Regions from separate parts of the Homo sapiens genome. Here regions 1, 2 and 3 are each linked to region 4. Evidence: promoter capture Hi-C in 16 types of primary human blood cells and fetal thymus (Javierre and others, 2016). All regions are on one chromosome and are shown on one strand. The core of a region is centred on a gene start or on the middle of the fragment in contact, and the rest is flanking DNA. Distances in the headings are between cores, read along the strand shown. Region 1 overlaps LOC105370923 (a long non-coding RNA gene). Region 2 overlaps LOC105370922 (a long non-coding RNA gene). Region 3 overlaps EFL1 (elongation factor like GTPase 1). Region 4 holds the start of TMC3 (transmembrane channel like 3).

The links. The method cuts DNA at HindIII sites, captures the fragments that hold promoters and counts their contacts. A CHiCAGO score of 5 or more calls a contact.
Region 1: a contact is called between a fragment that was not itself captured here and the fragment with the promoter of TMC3 in region 4, in 1 of 17 cell types (M2 macrophages). The highest score is 5.4, in M2 macrophages.
Region 2: a contact is called between a fragment that was not itself captured here and the fragment with the promoter of TMC3 in region 4, in 1 of 17 cell types (endothelial precursors). The highest score is 5.7, in endothelial precursors.
Region 3: a fragment that was not itself captured here is called in contact with the fragment with the promoter of TMC3 in region 4 in 2 of 17 cell types (fetal thymus and M0 macrophages); the score reaches 7.6 in fetal thymus.

What each region holds. Positions count from the first base shown.
Region 1 is chr15:82,028,569-82,032,326 of GRCh38, forward strand. It overlaps LOC105370923 (a long non-coding RNA gene), which reads right to left. Exons shown (of 3, transcript XR_932531.2): 1 at 1,369-3,758; 2 at 753-865. Among named protein-coding and RNA genes, the nearest start is that of MEX3B, 16 kb to the right of the region's middle. The HindIII fragment of the contact is 850 bases long and covers 2,037-2,886 here.
Region 2 is chr15:81,986,050-81,989,822 of GRCh38, forward strand. The region is part of intron 3 of LOC105370922 (a long non-coding RNA gene); the gene reads right to left. Among named protein-coding and RNA genes, the nearest start is that of LINC01418, 21 kb to the left of the region's middle. The HindIII fragment of the contact is 3,532 bases long and covers 727-3,773 here.
Region 3 is chr15:82,184,721-82,188,356 of GRCh38, forward strand. The region is part of intron 15 of EFL1 (elongation factor like GTPase 1); the gene reads right to left. Among named protein-coding and RNA genes, the nearest start is that of EFL1, 76 kb to the right of the region's middle. The HindIII fragment of the contact is 2,009 bases long and covers 881-2,889 here.
Region 4 is chr15:81,372,936-81,376,990 of GRCh38, forward strand. TMC3 (transmembrane channel like 3) reads right to left here and starts at 1,278. Exons shown (of 22, transcript NM_001080532.3): 1 at 1,054-1,278. The coding sequence starts at 1,142. All of the region lies in intron 5 of TMC3-AS1 (TMC3 antisense RNA 1), which reads left to right. The HindIII fragment of the contact is 5,020 bases long and covers 820-4,055 here.

The DNA of each region.
Region 1 (3,758 bases), core at 1,212-3,711, 660 kb after region 4:
ACACCTGGTTAATTTTGTATTTTTAGTAGAGACGGGGTTTCTCCATGTTGGCCAGGCTGGTCTCAAACTCCTGACCTCAGATGATCCACCCGCCTTGTCCTCCCAAAGTGCTGGGATTACAGGCATAAGCCACTGCGCCCGGCTGTATCAGTGTAATGTTCTATGGGAGAGGAGGCAAGCCTGTCATTGGCCACCCCAGAAGTGGTATGATGGGCACATAAATGGAGAGATGGAAGCTATGCATAGGCCCAACAGCATGCATTCCCACTGACTGTGACCAGTGTAGCCACTGTCACCTCTGAATGTCCAGTCTACTAGCAACAGAGGTCAAAGCTAAGCCTTGGAAATGGCACTGTTCCTGGAGGAGACCACAGGGCCACAGAGTGACAAGTCTGCCTGTATTGGGCCCCTCCATCTTGTAAGAGACAGCTGTCCAACCTCTCTCTAGGTTTCAGGTCTCATTCCCTTCCCTAGACTGGCCCTTGCCCCACTCACAGATCCTATTAAACTACCTGGCTGGTGACTTCAGCCTTGACCCTTACTTTGGCAAATTCCCAGCCCTTCCAGTCTTAGCTTCGGAAGTATTACTGCTACTTATCCAATATTTATCCCTCTTTACCTTTTATCTTTACAGAAATAACACAGACTTTGTTCAGGATGACATTGCTTAACTATAAATGTTTGATTTTCCAACCATATGAACAGTTCTGGCCAATGAGAGATAGTCTCTGAATGAAAAGGCAGAAGCTCACCAGCAAAGTGCCTCTTTACTGGCCATCCTTGTCATTTCACTAAACTTTTCCCTCCTTCTTCATGCTTGGACTATAGACAAGAGGTCTGGGGTTGTGGCAGCCATCCTTTGACCCTGAGGCATTTAACAAATGACAGAGCAGAAAGATGTAAAGAGCTGTGGATCCTGGTTGTGTCTCTGAGAAACCAGACCAGCCCTGATCTGCTTACTTTGGGGCTGCCTGTGTGTAAGGCCAGTCAAACCCTGCTTCAGCCACTATAGGAGGTTTTCATTCATTTGATCTCTTCTATGGAGTGGAATTGCTTCGAATCTGGCTGGCACTTGGCCCTAAATAGTATTAATAGATACTGAGCTATTGAAATGAAACTTTTATGACAATAACACATTGATGTATGTGCTCCTGCAAAGGGATTTGAAATACTACTAATAATAAATGAATCTTAAACTGAAAAAAGATATGCTGGAGTCATAAACCCCAGTATCTCAGAATGCGATCTTATTTGAAGATAGGATCTTTTTACAAAGATAGTCCAGTTAAAATGAGGTCATGAGGGGTGGGTCCTAATTCGATAGGACTGATGTCCTTATAAGAAGTGGAAATCTGGGGATATACATACACAAAGAAGACAAAGTGAAGGCGGGAGAAGGCAGCCACATACAAGTCAGAGAGGCCTGGAACAGATCCTTCCCGCACAGCCCTCAGAGGAAACCAGCCCTGCTGACACCTTGATCTCAGACTTCTTGCCTCTAGAACTGAGAGACGATAAATTTCTGTTGTTTAAGCCACTCAGTTTGTGGTACTTGGCCCCCCTACCAAATGAATACAGGAGGGTGTTCTGTTCTTTGAAACTGGATATATCTCTGTATGATACAGCTAGGCAGTCTCCCAGCTCTGCCACCAATCCCACACCCACCCTAAATGTGACTTCAACAATCATCAGATATAATTCAACATTTGGAAAAATCTCAGTGACTAGACAACTGTCCAGTGGACTTGTAAGGACAGCCAGTAAATCTAAGCTTAATGAGCCATTAAGAACACTGAATAGCTGGAGAGATTCTCTGCACTTTGCCTCAGAGTTCTTAGCAAGGGGCAGGGGTTGAGTTCCTCCCTCTCGCACAGGGAGCCCATGCCTTCCTTAATTGCTTCAACTTGTGTACAGACTGCCTGTGGCCATAGAGTCCTAGCTAGGTCTTGACGCAGTAAGATAGCACCACACAATGATGTGGTTTTGCTTTTGTACTGTCCTGTGCTCTAAATCCTGCCTACTTTGCTGTTGTGAGAAGCTTCTGAGTTTAATTGATTCATTTTGGAGATTGGTCTGCATGCAAAAGTTTCAATGTTCTGATCATTAAGGAAGGATTAATTGAGTTGCCCTGGAAGGGACTTCATTGGACTAGTTTCCAAATTTAATATATGGCCTAGTTCCACCAAGAACCTGGATTATTCACTCTCTTATAGTGAGCTACTTGGCAGCCCCAACCTTACTAAGCAGAGGGCAAGATATTTAGGCAGTAAATTCAAAATTCCACTCCTTCCACCATTTACTCAGTCCCAAACTTCTCATAAATTTTCAAGTGAAATTCAAGAAAGTTTTTCTTCCTAAATGGGAAATATAGATTGGAGGTTTTCATTCATTTTGATTTCTTCTTTGGAGTGGAATTCCTAGAATCTGACTGGCACTTGGCCCTAAATGGTATTAATAGATACTGAGCTATGGAGATGAAACTTTTATGACAATAACATATTGATGTATGTGCTCATACAAAGGGATTTAAAATACTACTACTAATAAATGGATCTTAAAAGCATCCTAACAACTGTTGGTCTTTGATACTTACTTAATGCTGGCTGGATCCAGTGCAAGATACACTGCTAAGAAAATCCTAATAGTTATTTTTAAAATAATAATACATTTATTTATTCATTCTTACATGTCATTTAAATACGATTAGCAATCCTTTTTTATTCTCAGAGAAAACTCTTAGTGAGTCTGAGGATCAGATATGTCCCCAATATGTGTTCATACTGCTTAGCGTGGAATTGCATATGTTCTTTGCAGGTTTTGGCTGTGTGCAAATCGTGTGAGCGCTTTTTACAATAGAGAAAGCATTTTGGACAGATATTGAAATGAAGCTTCTCCATCATGCAGCTTTTAGAGTATTTGTCTCATGTGTTTTAACCCCTGTTCCCAATATCTTGTATTTCAGTGCTCACAGCTGAAGCACATGTCCTATTTTATGCCCTTCCTCATAACTACTGCTGATTATTTTGCATCTTGCACATCTAAATGTTCAGTTTTTCTTCCTAATTCCAATGATTCTCCTCATTTCTCAATGTCCTTTGTCCATCTTTGCTGCTCCATTTGCACTGCCTCCCAAAGGTCACTGTGGCTCCTTCTCTGACTTCCACAGTCAAGTTACACTTCATAAAAATTCTAAGCTCATTTTCAGAAGCCACAAATCTATCCTTCTTTAAAGTCTTCAAACTTTGATTGTGTAAATAAATACTCAGAAACAAGATTTCTAAAAAAAAAAACACTATTGGCCATCGTATGTTCAAAGGAGATAACAAATGTTTAACCTTATATGTTGTAGGCTTTCTAAACTTAATTTCAAAAAAAGACTAAATAAACAGTGTCAATATGTCTATAAACTCACAACGAAAATTTTCAGATCATCCAATTGTGTATTCATTGGCCGGAAACAATCATGTAAAAACCACAGCCCTGGAGCTGGGTAGCATAGAAACAAGAAGATTCAGCATTTCATGGTTGGTGACCTCAAATCTCTAAAGGGTTGTCAGGTTAAAAAAAAAAAAAAGAAAAGAAAAGAATAGAAATTTGACCTGATCTATAAAAATGAAAGTCGCTGGGCAAAGTTTTGGCTTTTCACTCCTGACAAAGATGAGCTCTCTCATAGGTAGACCAAGGCACACGAGTGATGACTTTCGTGGCCCCAAAATTCTTCAAGAAAATAGTAGATTGAGGAAGCGATCTGCGCATTG
Region 2 (3,773 bases), core at 1,243-3,742, 610 kb after region 4:
CTGGAAGCAAAAATATATAATAATCTGGGTTTAAGCAAACTGCAGACCTTATGGCTCACAATGTAGACATCTGAAAATGAGAACCTGAAAATGCAAAGCCATTTTAACACATTATTTAGTAAGTTAGTTTTCAGAAACTAAGATGTACACCTCCTTAGCAGTCAGTAAACATATTTTTTCCTTATGAAACCAGGCTATAAATGGCTAGTGTGGATAAAATGAAAGCATTTGGTGAAGTCTGTCTCTCTTGGGATTTCTGCTTAACTGAGGAATACATTATATTCAGATATTTCCTCAGACATAAATACCATCTTGATTAAGACATAAAGTTCCCTGGTTACACATCATGGAAATGGACTTTGGACTCAGACCATCACCAGTGATGGCCGATGTGTTTAGGGTAAAGCTTTGTTTGCAGAAAGAGCCATAACTTGAGCATAAATTATGCGTTGGAGTCACCACTCCAATTTGCCTATTTTTTGTTAGAAACTTTATGTGAAATTTGAGGTTGAGGGATAGGGGTTAGAATTGGCATCTTAGGCTGGTTTCCCGCAGTGCACCCACAACAAGGCTGCTGTGGACAAAGGCCTCAGAATCTGGCTTCCCGGAGTGTGGGTGGAGCTGAGCTACAAGTGCATGCCCAGTACCAAGTGGGGTCCACCAAGCTTCCATAACTAGAACCCTATGTAGACAAACCCCTCAGCTTCCAGAGACTAAATGCTAGAAAGCTTAAGCATTCCATGAAATGAAACCAGCAACCATAGCTTGGAAAGTAATACAGGCAAAAGCTCAAGAATAGAGATCATAATGTGTCCTAATGGGTCAACTCATAGCTCCAGCTCTTGGATTCTGTGGAACAGGATAGATTTCCAAGAGCTGGAAGGCACTGCTGAAAGGTAAAGATAGAGAAGGAATGGGAATGACCTGGAAAACGGAGAACCCAAGAGGGCTTGGATCCAGAAAAGGATTGCCCAGTAATCCAGGCCTTCCCAAGGAGATAGTTTGCTTCTCTCCTTTTCCAGAGTCCTTCATGACCAGAAGCTCTCCTGTTAGCTACCATGCCTTGCTCCTGTTTCTTATCATTGTCTGTGTCTCAGCACAACCATTGTTGGGTTTTTTTTTTTTTTTTTTTTTTGAGACGGAGTCTCGCTCTGTCACCCAGGCTGGAGTGCAGTGGCGCAATCTTGGCTCAGTGCAACCTCCGCCTCCCAGTATCAAGTGATTCTCCTGCCTCAGCCTCCCGAGTAGCTGGGATTACAGGCGCCCACGACCATACCCGGCTAATTTTTGTATTTTTTAGTAGAGACTGGGTTTCACCATGTTGGCCAGGCTGGTCTCGAACTCCTGATCTTGTGATCTGCCCTCTTCGGCCTCCCAAAGTGCTGGGATTACAGGCGTGAGCCACTACGCCCAGCCCACTGTTGGCTTTTGACTACCACGAATTCTGGCTAGGGAGTTTCTGAAGGTGTCAGAGGTTGTCACAGATCAGGCTTCCCTCCTTCTGATCATAGAGTGATGGTTCCACCATTCTCCCAGCTCATGACCTAGAACTCAATTCCAGAGTTTCCAACTCCTTCTCCAAATATAATTACCCGTAAAACTTTGAAACTCTCCTCATTGTCCTTCATACCCACAAGACATACCACTTCCTGTGCTCCCAACCTTTCTTGAAAATACTGCTTATCACACTAGACTCTGAGACTTGTGAGATCAAGCCCATGTCTAATTCATCTTTCTAATTCTGGCTCCTGGTACAGTGCCTGACTCATGGTTGACTTAGGGATGTTTGGTTGAAGAAGTATGATCCGGCCAACTTTTCTGTTACATGTGTTTCCTCCCTTGCTTTATATTCCTGCCAACACCTTCATCATCTTTCAGCTAGACACTCAATAATATAATGATTAACGTTCAGATAGAGAATGCTGTGAAGGAAATAATGTATAATAAGAAGACCGAAGCAAGAGGTGGAAGGGAGGTACCATTTTAGATGAAATAGTCAAAGATGTCTCTGAGGAGATGACATGTGAGCAGAGATACAAACAATGAAAAGAAGAGAGGCATGTGGTCATCTGGCTGGGGAGGCATTCCAGAGGGAAACAAGAGGAAAGTTAAGGTCCCTGAGGTAAGGATGAGTATGTCCTGTTTCAGAAAGAGCAGGAAGGCCAGCCTGGCTACAGTATGGTAAACTGGAGGAAGAGGAACAGATAAGGCTAAAAAAGTCGGCAGGGTCTAGATCCTGTCTTTGTAGGTATGTCAGGAAATTTGGATCTTAAGTGTAATGAGAAGCCATGGCATGTTTTAATTAGGGAAATTAGGTCATCTTAAGTTACTTACTTCAAAAAGTTACTCTAGATGCTGTCTGCAGAATGGATTAAAGGGGACAAGAATGGAGAAATACCTGTTAGGGAGTGTATGCAGAAATTTAGGAGAGGTGATTATGGATTGTTCTTGGGAAGAAAGAGTGGAAAGAGAAGTGGTTGGCTAAAAACTAAATTTCAAAAGAAATTTATTAAAAAAAAAATAAATTTTCCAAGACCAAAAAATGTGTTAGTAGATTGGATATGGGGGATGAGGAAACCAGAAGAACCAGGGAGGACTCCCATGCCTTAGGTCTTGGGTAAAAGGTGGGGCCATTAGGCCATTACCTGAGATGGAGAAGACTAGGGGAGGGGCATTCTTTACAAGGTGAATGGGGTAAGAAGCCAATGGAAGGAAAATCTATTTAGGATAAAGTGAAAGTGTCATGTGGGCAATTAGATAGCATGCATCTGGAGCTTAGAGAATAGCTTGGAGAAGTCCTCAGAATGTAAATTTTTGAGCCGATAGTGTATAGAAGGTATTGAAATCCATAGAGCTAGAAGAGTTCAATGCAACATGTTTTACAGTCATGATCTATTCTTTGGCCATGAGCCACTCAGGCCATAGTGCATTAATGGGATTATTTTTACACCTTAGAACAGTTTGTCTTTTACACCTACCTCATAATCCTTTTAAAAAATTATTAAACTTTAAGGAACACTTGGAGAAAATGGGATAAAAGCAAGAGGAGCAAGAACCTCAGGAATTCATATGGCCTTTATTGAGGCAACACCAGAATGCACTGTCTACTGCAAAAAGAAGCAAGCAAAGTTGTAGAAATTCTCTAACAGGTGTGGCTCAGGCCAAATTGTCTTGGCAGGAGCAACAACAGCAATGACCCAGGAAACAATGCCAGTAATTCAGAGCCAGGGACAAGCCAAGCAGATGCTCTAGAACCTCTGCGTCTACCAATCTCTTAGTCTAGGAATATCCAGTTTCCCTAGACCTTCTCCATCCAGACCCTTGGGAATTTTCAGCAGCAGAATTTATTCTCTTCAATCACAGCCAGGCCTGGGATGCCCCAGTTCAAGCATTCCACCAGGGGTTCTGGCACCCATGGACTTCATTTTAGAGTCTGAATGTTTCCTTGAGTCCAAAGTGCACCCTTTACTGCAGACCCCTTTAGTGACCCCCATATCTCTCCCTACTGTTTCCTGCCATAATACTTTGGCCCCAAGGTGGGACTGACTCTCTGGATGAGAAACATCAGAGCATGGAGACATTTCTGAATTTACAGAAGAGTCAGTCCTCTGAAATGTCCTGTGGATACCTTAGGGAAATCACAAAAAACACTATGACAACAGAATATGTTTCTGAGACTCATTCATGTTGTTGGCAAAAGCTATAATTCATTCATATTTATCTCTGTAGAAATAAAATTCTACAGCCAGAAACAGAGAGAAATTCTGTTCTTA
Region 3 (3,636 bases), core at 635-3,134, 810 kb after region 4:
GAAAAGAAGTGGAAGCTAAGTAAACTGTAAGGAAGAAGATGAAACTTCCAACTCCCAAATTCCTCACAATTTGACAGATAAGGGATTATTGGATGAAATAGAGTGAAACAATCTACTATATGGTGAAAACATGTGCAATCATAAAAACAAAGAAATGTAGAGTTTCATTATTTGAGGATTTAGAGACAAGAACAACTTAGAGTAGTGTGAATAGTAAGTCCATTGTTTAGCTAATAAATAGGAGACCTTCATTTCCCCAGACTGTGCTAACATGAAGCAAATGTTTTAGTGAAGGAAAAGGAAAGAAATCTATTTTTATATCCCCTGCTACAATGGATTTTGTCTGTTAGAGACAAAGTTAAGTTTTGACTATTTACAAATGAACTCACACATACATATTACCCCAACTCAGAAGACATACAAATCCTTAGGAATGTTTCATGTGTGGCTGTGTGTGTGTGTGTGTGTGTGTGTGTGTGTGTGTGTGTGTGTGTGCGTTCCTCAATTCACGGAGTGAAAACACTGGGTCACCTACTTTCAAAACTAACAAATTAAAGTTAAAATTGTATCTCTACTCCATACCATAAACCAAGATAAAAATCTAGATGGATTAAAAAGTGACACATATGTGTGACTATTAAATAAAATTAAAATGCATATCTTCATAAATGAAAAAGTAAAAAAGAAAAAAGCCAAAAACCCAAAAACAAAAAATCCAACTTGTAAATACTTTAAAGACATTCAGAAAAAAATTTTAAAAAATTAGAACTTTTCCCATAAATTTTTACTTTTATGGCAAAAAATCAAATAAACAAAGTTAAAAAGCAAGTCAAAAATGGAAGAGAATTATCAGAACACAGATGAATAGCTTCCTATAAAAAGCTTTTACCAATAAATCAGAAAATGAATACCACAATTTAAAAACACAGCCAAAGAATACAGACAATTAAAAAAAATACAAGTGGCCAACTTACATATAAGGTAGTGTTCAACCTCTTTAATAGTAAAAGCAAATTTAAACTAAAACTCGATACCTTTAGTTACTGACATATTCAGGACTCTACTGTTGAAACAGTTTTGTAACATTTTTTCCCTAGAAAATCAAGGGGCGTATTTGCATATGGAAATTAATTAGCCTTGAAAAGTATACAGTATTTTCTTAAAATTTAAAATCTCTATGTTTATTACTTCATTCCCACTCATTCCTAACTTGCTTGTTTTCCCCTTTCCTCAGTGAGACATTTAACTATTGTACTCATCTTTTTAAATACATCTGCTATTTACTTATCAATTCTAGGGAATTTTGTTGTATAAAATTTAATTTTTGCTTTTTTCTTTACTAGTATCTTCTTTTTTTTTGTAAGGGGGGACTTGTCATTCTTTCTCTGATTACCTCAGTGGAATGAATAGTTGCTTGTTTTTTTCTTACCAAATAATAAAAGCAAAGGCTAGCTTTTTATACTCAGAGTTTTGGAATCACATCTAAAGGCTTTGATATGTTGAATTCTGACTTTTGTCAGTGTTTAAATCCATATAGGCACGCTCCTTTCCATCTTTAATTAATATCTATAATATGCAAGGGGTAAGGTCAAAAAGCAATAAGGGGGAAAGGCCATTAACATAACACAAAAATCTTCTAGCCTAAAGTACTATATTGTCTGGCTCTTTAGTAAAGCCCAACCTAAAAAGCACATCTCTTAACCATAGAAAACGGCAAAAGAATGGATGCTCTGGCAGTTAAACACTCTCTCACAAACTGAATCATTTCCAAATACCAGGTGTTCCAGTTTCACTGTGTTTTGATATTGTCAGAAAGGCTAGCCACTTTTTTTTGCTCCATTTAAGCATTCATTGCCTTTATTTTTAACATAATTAACTCGATTATAAATTTATGTGATTTAATCTTTAATAATGGCCAAGTTTAACAACTGGTTAACAAATTTCCTGAAAATTTAGCAATCTGCTCTTATGAGCCGACAGTTTTCCTTTTCCATTTCCAGACCTGAGTGTTCTATTCCACCCTTTTGGAGGTTCTAGTCCCACATGACTCAGTGTTGGTCTTGTTCCTGTATCTGTTTCTAGTCTAGAACCTTCACAGTACTTGAGTCCTCTTTGATGATCGAGGCTTGTTTTGCTCTAAATTGCAGGTCCCCTGGAACTGACATCTCAGCGCCTCAATAATTCAGGCGCTTCTTAGGTAGCCTTTTGAGCACTCCCTCACTGGAACCTCAGCCTGTAGTGATTTTAGACTAATTTCTAGAGGTATGTTGTTTGTCATTTCCTTGAACTCTGAGTAGACATTACCATGCCCTTTGGATATTTTGTTATACCTTCTTACAGAAGCTATTTTTATCCATTTTAAAGAGTAATTGAAAAAATGTTCTTTATTATACATCATCTTACAAAGGAAGTTTGCAGGGGATGATAAGCACTAGTGCTACTGTAGTGCTTTCCTACAGAGGCGGCACTTGTCAATGAGCAAAGAGGCCAACATTGTGACATATGCCTGGAGCTTCAGTTTCACTTCTTTCTAATAGCGAAAACAAATATTGTAAAATAGGCGTAATTTATCCTTAAGCTGTTTGGTTAAAGTGAAATGCAAATGTTTTAAACCAAAGGATTGCTCTACTCTGTAACTGCAAATTTAATTTCTACTTTGCTCTAAGAGTGACTTAGGAGATTGTATTTTAATATCTAGCTGATTAGAATTATTTTGAACAATTTTTTATTATTAACTTTGAGTTTTAGTTTATTTTGGTCAGAAAATAATAGCTTGTGCACATTATATTTTGGAGATTTTATTAAAACTTTTCTTGTGACCTAGTAAATTCAATTTTTAAATTTAATTTCTACTTAGAGTACAAAATTTTATATCTACCTATTAAACGAAGCTTATTGTTTGTATTATTTAAATATTCTATTTCCATATTTATCCTCTACCTAATTTACATGTCAAATTCTGGAAGGCATGTCCAAGTCTTCTAATACAATTTCTATTCTGTAAATTCTAATTTTTATTTTAATGTTTTGCTTTATATGCACAGTATCTAAAATGTCTAGAGGAGGGAATATTTGTTAAATTTTTATATTTTACTCTTTTTTACCTACTTAATCTACTTTGACTTAATCTCAGTCATATTATTCTATCATTATTCTTTGGAGCAATATACACTGAGATTTTGTCCTATATTTCACGGTAATAACTATAACAGTGAAAAAAACAGCCCTGTGTTTCCAGACTTTTAGGATACTCTGTATTTCAGTGCTACCTTACTTGGGACATAAAGACTTATGACCATTATAATTTTAGTTCCAATTGAATTTTTCTTTAATAAAATATAACTCTTTGTCCTGTTGAATGCTTTTCCTCTTGAAATTTCCTCTACCTAACACTAAATTTGTATCTTTATCTTTACAAAATTGTTTACTTTAAACAATTGTTGTCTTTATCTTTTATTTTCAAACTTTGAACTGCTTTATTTCACATGGTTCCTGCAAACAGCATGATTCTCTTGAGTTTTTTGGAGTGCCCAATATAAGCGTCATTGTCTTTTAATTAAGTTGTTAAGTTCCTTCACATTTACTGTGGTAATATATTTGGTCTTGGGTCTAGCCTACTTCCATTTTCTTATCTTT
Region 4 (4,055 bases), core at 28-2,527:
GTCAGTAGCCTGTTGAAACACATTTATTGGATTCAATTACTTCCACTGGGTCATTAGAAGATAATGATTTCTCAGGGTGCATGATATTATCAGAAAACACAAGATGAGACAAGAGGGTATTTACGTACTCTTGGATTCCTGAGTAGCAGCAATTTGGGTAGGCAAAATAATTTCTTTTTCAGGCTCATTGAAATAATCAGCTAATTTTAGAGGCAGGACTCCTTATGTTACTTGAAGGTAACATAAATCAAAACTTCTGCCACTCAGAAACCCCTCTTCACCCTTTCACGTCAATTCATTTTAAGCCTGAGATAACCGAGGCAGAGCCAGGCAAAGCAATTTCTACGAGCGAAAGATTAGCTAAGCAAATTTACATGGGTGAGATATTTCAGGAAATAGATACTCTCAAGAGGAACAATTTTCCAACATGTAGCAACATTTACTCCCAGTTACACTTAATATGCTTATCCTAATGCAACATTTTGAGAGGAGTTAAGAGTATTCATCTATGACTATTAGAAATAAAAGATTTCGTTTGTTATTCTCTAATTCATGTTGTTTTTACTCATTTAGAGGAGAATTTTTTTCAATTTCACCAAATTAAATGGCAGCTGTACTAGACCTTTATAAATATTTAACAAATTCGAATAGCACTCTCATCCACTTCTAACTAGCCTGAAGGCTTTTCCAATAAACACTTTATTTATCATGATAGACATATTATCTGCTCTCTCTTGACATTGCTGATTGAGTGAACATAGAGAAAACAGGGAAACATATCTGTGGGTTTGGCCAGCCATAAAGCCAGGTTGGGATGCAAGCTTTTGGATTCTGACCTCCTGGTCAAGAAGCAGCCAGAAGAACCATTTCCCCCCATGCCCGTTGCTGAGGTTGCCATCCTAGTTGTACCACAACCTGGAGAAGTGAGTTTCTGAGTTCATTCTGAAGGACAACTGAGCAGGACAGGGACTTTGTCCCTCGCTCTGGTGACCCATGCATTCCTTCCTCACACACCTGACTCCTCTGCCCAGCTGATGAATGGGGCCAGCTCACCTGAGCAGCAGAGATTCCTGGTAGAGGTAGCACTGGCTGGCATTTCTCCGGATGCCTCTATAGCGCTGGGATGCCTTCGAGGTTTTCATGGGAGCTAACCCACTGCTAACAATCAGAAGCTGGCCAGAGAGCTAGGAAGTTGGCAGGCAAAGGTCTGTTCCGAGGTTTCTGAATGGAAGCAGCGGAGTTTGCTCTGCCCGCTAGTTCTCAGGAAGAAGACTGTGTGCTTGCAGCTGGTGCTCTGAGCAGGGAAGAATCCAGGAGGCCAGTCATGCATATGTAATGTTAAGGTGGCTGAGGCACACAGATTGGCTGGAGTCTAGACAGCCAAGGGTTTGGCCCGGTGATCTACACATCGCTTGGTGCTGTACAAATGATCACATCCGTTAACCCCTTATGCCCTGACAGTCCTGGATGGTTTGCAAAACACTTTACATCTGTGACCATGACTGGTGTTCACAAAACACTGAGGGAGTATAAAAGGCAAGGCTTAATTTCCCCAGTTTTTTACTCTCAACGAAGAGGCTTAGAGACAGTAAGGACCTTGCTTGTGTTCATACAGTGGAGTTGAGGAGAGGCACAGCCATCACATTTTATTTTTTCTTATTTAGTTTTTTCTCAACTTAGTTTCTATTTTGAAAAAAGTCAAATCCTTAGAAATGCTGATGGAACAGTACCAGGAATATCTGTACACTCTTAACCTAGATTTACCAATTGCCACATTTTGCCACAATTGCTTTATTTCTGTCTGTATCCTTCCCCCACCACACACCATTTGAAAGTAGATTGCAGAAATAATGATACATCAACCCCAAGTACTTCAGCATGATATTAATAATAATCAAATTAACATCTTATTACATTTTACCTTTACCATACATGGTCACATTAATGAGCACTATGACTCTGAGACTGAGGCTAAAAGAAATAAAGAGACTTCCTATAGCATTTGGTAAGAAAGGAAGACTTTGATAGAGATTAGACTCTCACCTCAATGTTCTGAAAATAGGTTGCCTGCTGTAAAATGGGATGAGTAGTTCATCCTAGTCCTTCAGCAAAGGTCAGCAGCTTCTCCTCCCCTTCCCCAGCCATCAGCAGAATGGAGCCCGGTTCCTTTGTCACCTGCAGACTCTCACTGTTAGCCATGCATTGGGATTCTGTTCCAAGAACCTCATTCCCAAGTCCAAGACTTGCCTGGTTTCACAGTGTAAACCTCTATTTGCTACTTAACACAAGAAATGGTTTGACTGCAGTGAGGTAAATTGCACCTTTGTAGTAACAGAATGGGAAGGTGCAGGACTGGAGTAGACATGACTCTTTCTATTGAACATTACCCACTGCACACTAAAGACTCAATAAATGGGTGAATAAATAACTGAAGTGGACACCAGACAACGGAGCAGAAAGAAAATCCATCAGCAAGTTCAGATGTGGGGCTTCGGAGAGAAACTTCATTCATTTGTCCATTCAATCCTCCACTAATTCATTAGCAAATAATTGGAAAGATCTTACCACACACTGAACTGGCAAATGTAAGCAAGAGCCCTAGCCCAGGGGTTCAGGACCATCAGGCAAGTGTTCAGACCTAGCGCTGAAAGCATGGGAACGAAGTGGAAGGCTGAGTGCCAGAGCTGGCCTTGGGTCAGAGATGGATCCGGAGCCTCTGGGACCAGGTCATCTGTCTGCCAATTTGCTTGAGGCCATTTGGCCTGATGCTCTATCTGGTAACATTAGATAAAATGTGTGCTTATCAAATGGACAAATGGCTTATACAATAGAATTACTGCTAGCCCCACTGGGATTTTTTGCATTCTTTCAGAGATCTTTACTTATCTCAATCATTCCTGAACATTTCAAAGATTTTTTTCGTCCTACTTTTTCTAAAGCCCCCCTGCCTTATTTTGAAATATTTACTCAAAAATTTAAAATATTTTATATTAATCTCACTCAAGTATTTTGAGTGTTTTTGTTTCCTTTTGATGTTACATATACATGTATATTGTAAGGGGAGGTAAGGAAAGGTAGCAAATTTTGCAGTACACAGGGATTTATTAAAAACAAATTAGAGCAAAATCAATCTTTTTAAAATTTCATATTCATTCAGGTAATTCTCTCTGGCACTATAGGTGAGATAAGTGTCAACCTTAAATAATGAGATTCAGAAAATTAATTCAGAGATTAAGAATAGAGTTTATTTGAACACAGAACTTGAGGGTAGCCACCCAGGAACCATCAAGTCCAAATAAATGGGATCAGCATTCCAAAGTGGAGAAGTTAAGGTTTTACTTGTATAGGCAGAGACAGAAATGTTAGCCGGATTACATTTTCTATATGAGACCAGTGCCTGTGGTTATAGATTGCTGCATTCTAAGGAAGATGACTTTATTACTCTGTGAGAAGGGGTAGTGATCCTGGTAGGGGGGTGTTATCTCTGATGCCCTTTGGCCTTTCTAATTATTTACAGGGAAGAAAAGGCAGAAGTTACAGCTGTGTGCCACATGACTCAGGCTGCAAAGCCACATTCTTCTCAAGGCTTAGAATAATTTCAAGTTACAACAGCATTAAGTTTAAGTTAATTTTAATAATTAAGTAATTTATTGGCCGGGCGCGGTAGCTCACACCTGTAATCCCAGCACTTTGGGAGGCTGAGGCGGGCCTCACAAGGTCAGGAGATTGAGACCATCCTGGCCAACATGGTGAAACTCCGTCTCTACTAAAAATACAAAAATTAGCCGGTCATGGTGATGCGTGCCTGTAATCCCAGCTACTCAGGAGGCTGAGGCAGGAGAATTGCTTGAACCAGGGAGTCAGAGGTTACAGTGAACTGAGATTGTGCCACAGCACTCCAGCCTGGCAACAGAGCGAGACTCCGTCTCAAAAAGATAAATAAATAAAAATAAATAAAATTAAGTAATTTATTGAACCTAAATGAAGATAGGTTGAATAAAAGATATTTAACTCTATTTTTAGTACCCAAATCATAAATTAACTGAGATAATTAC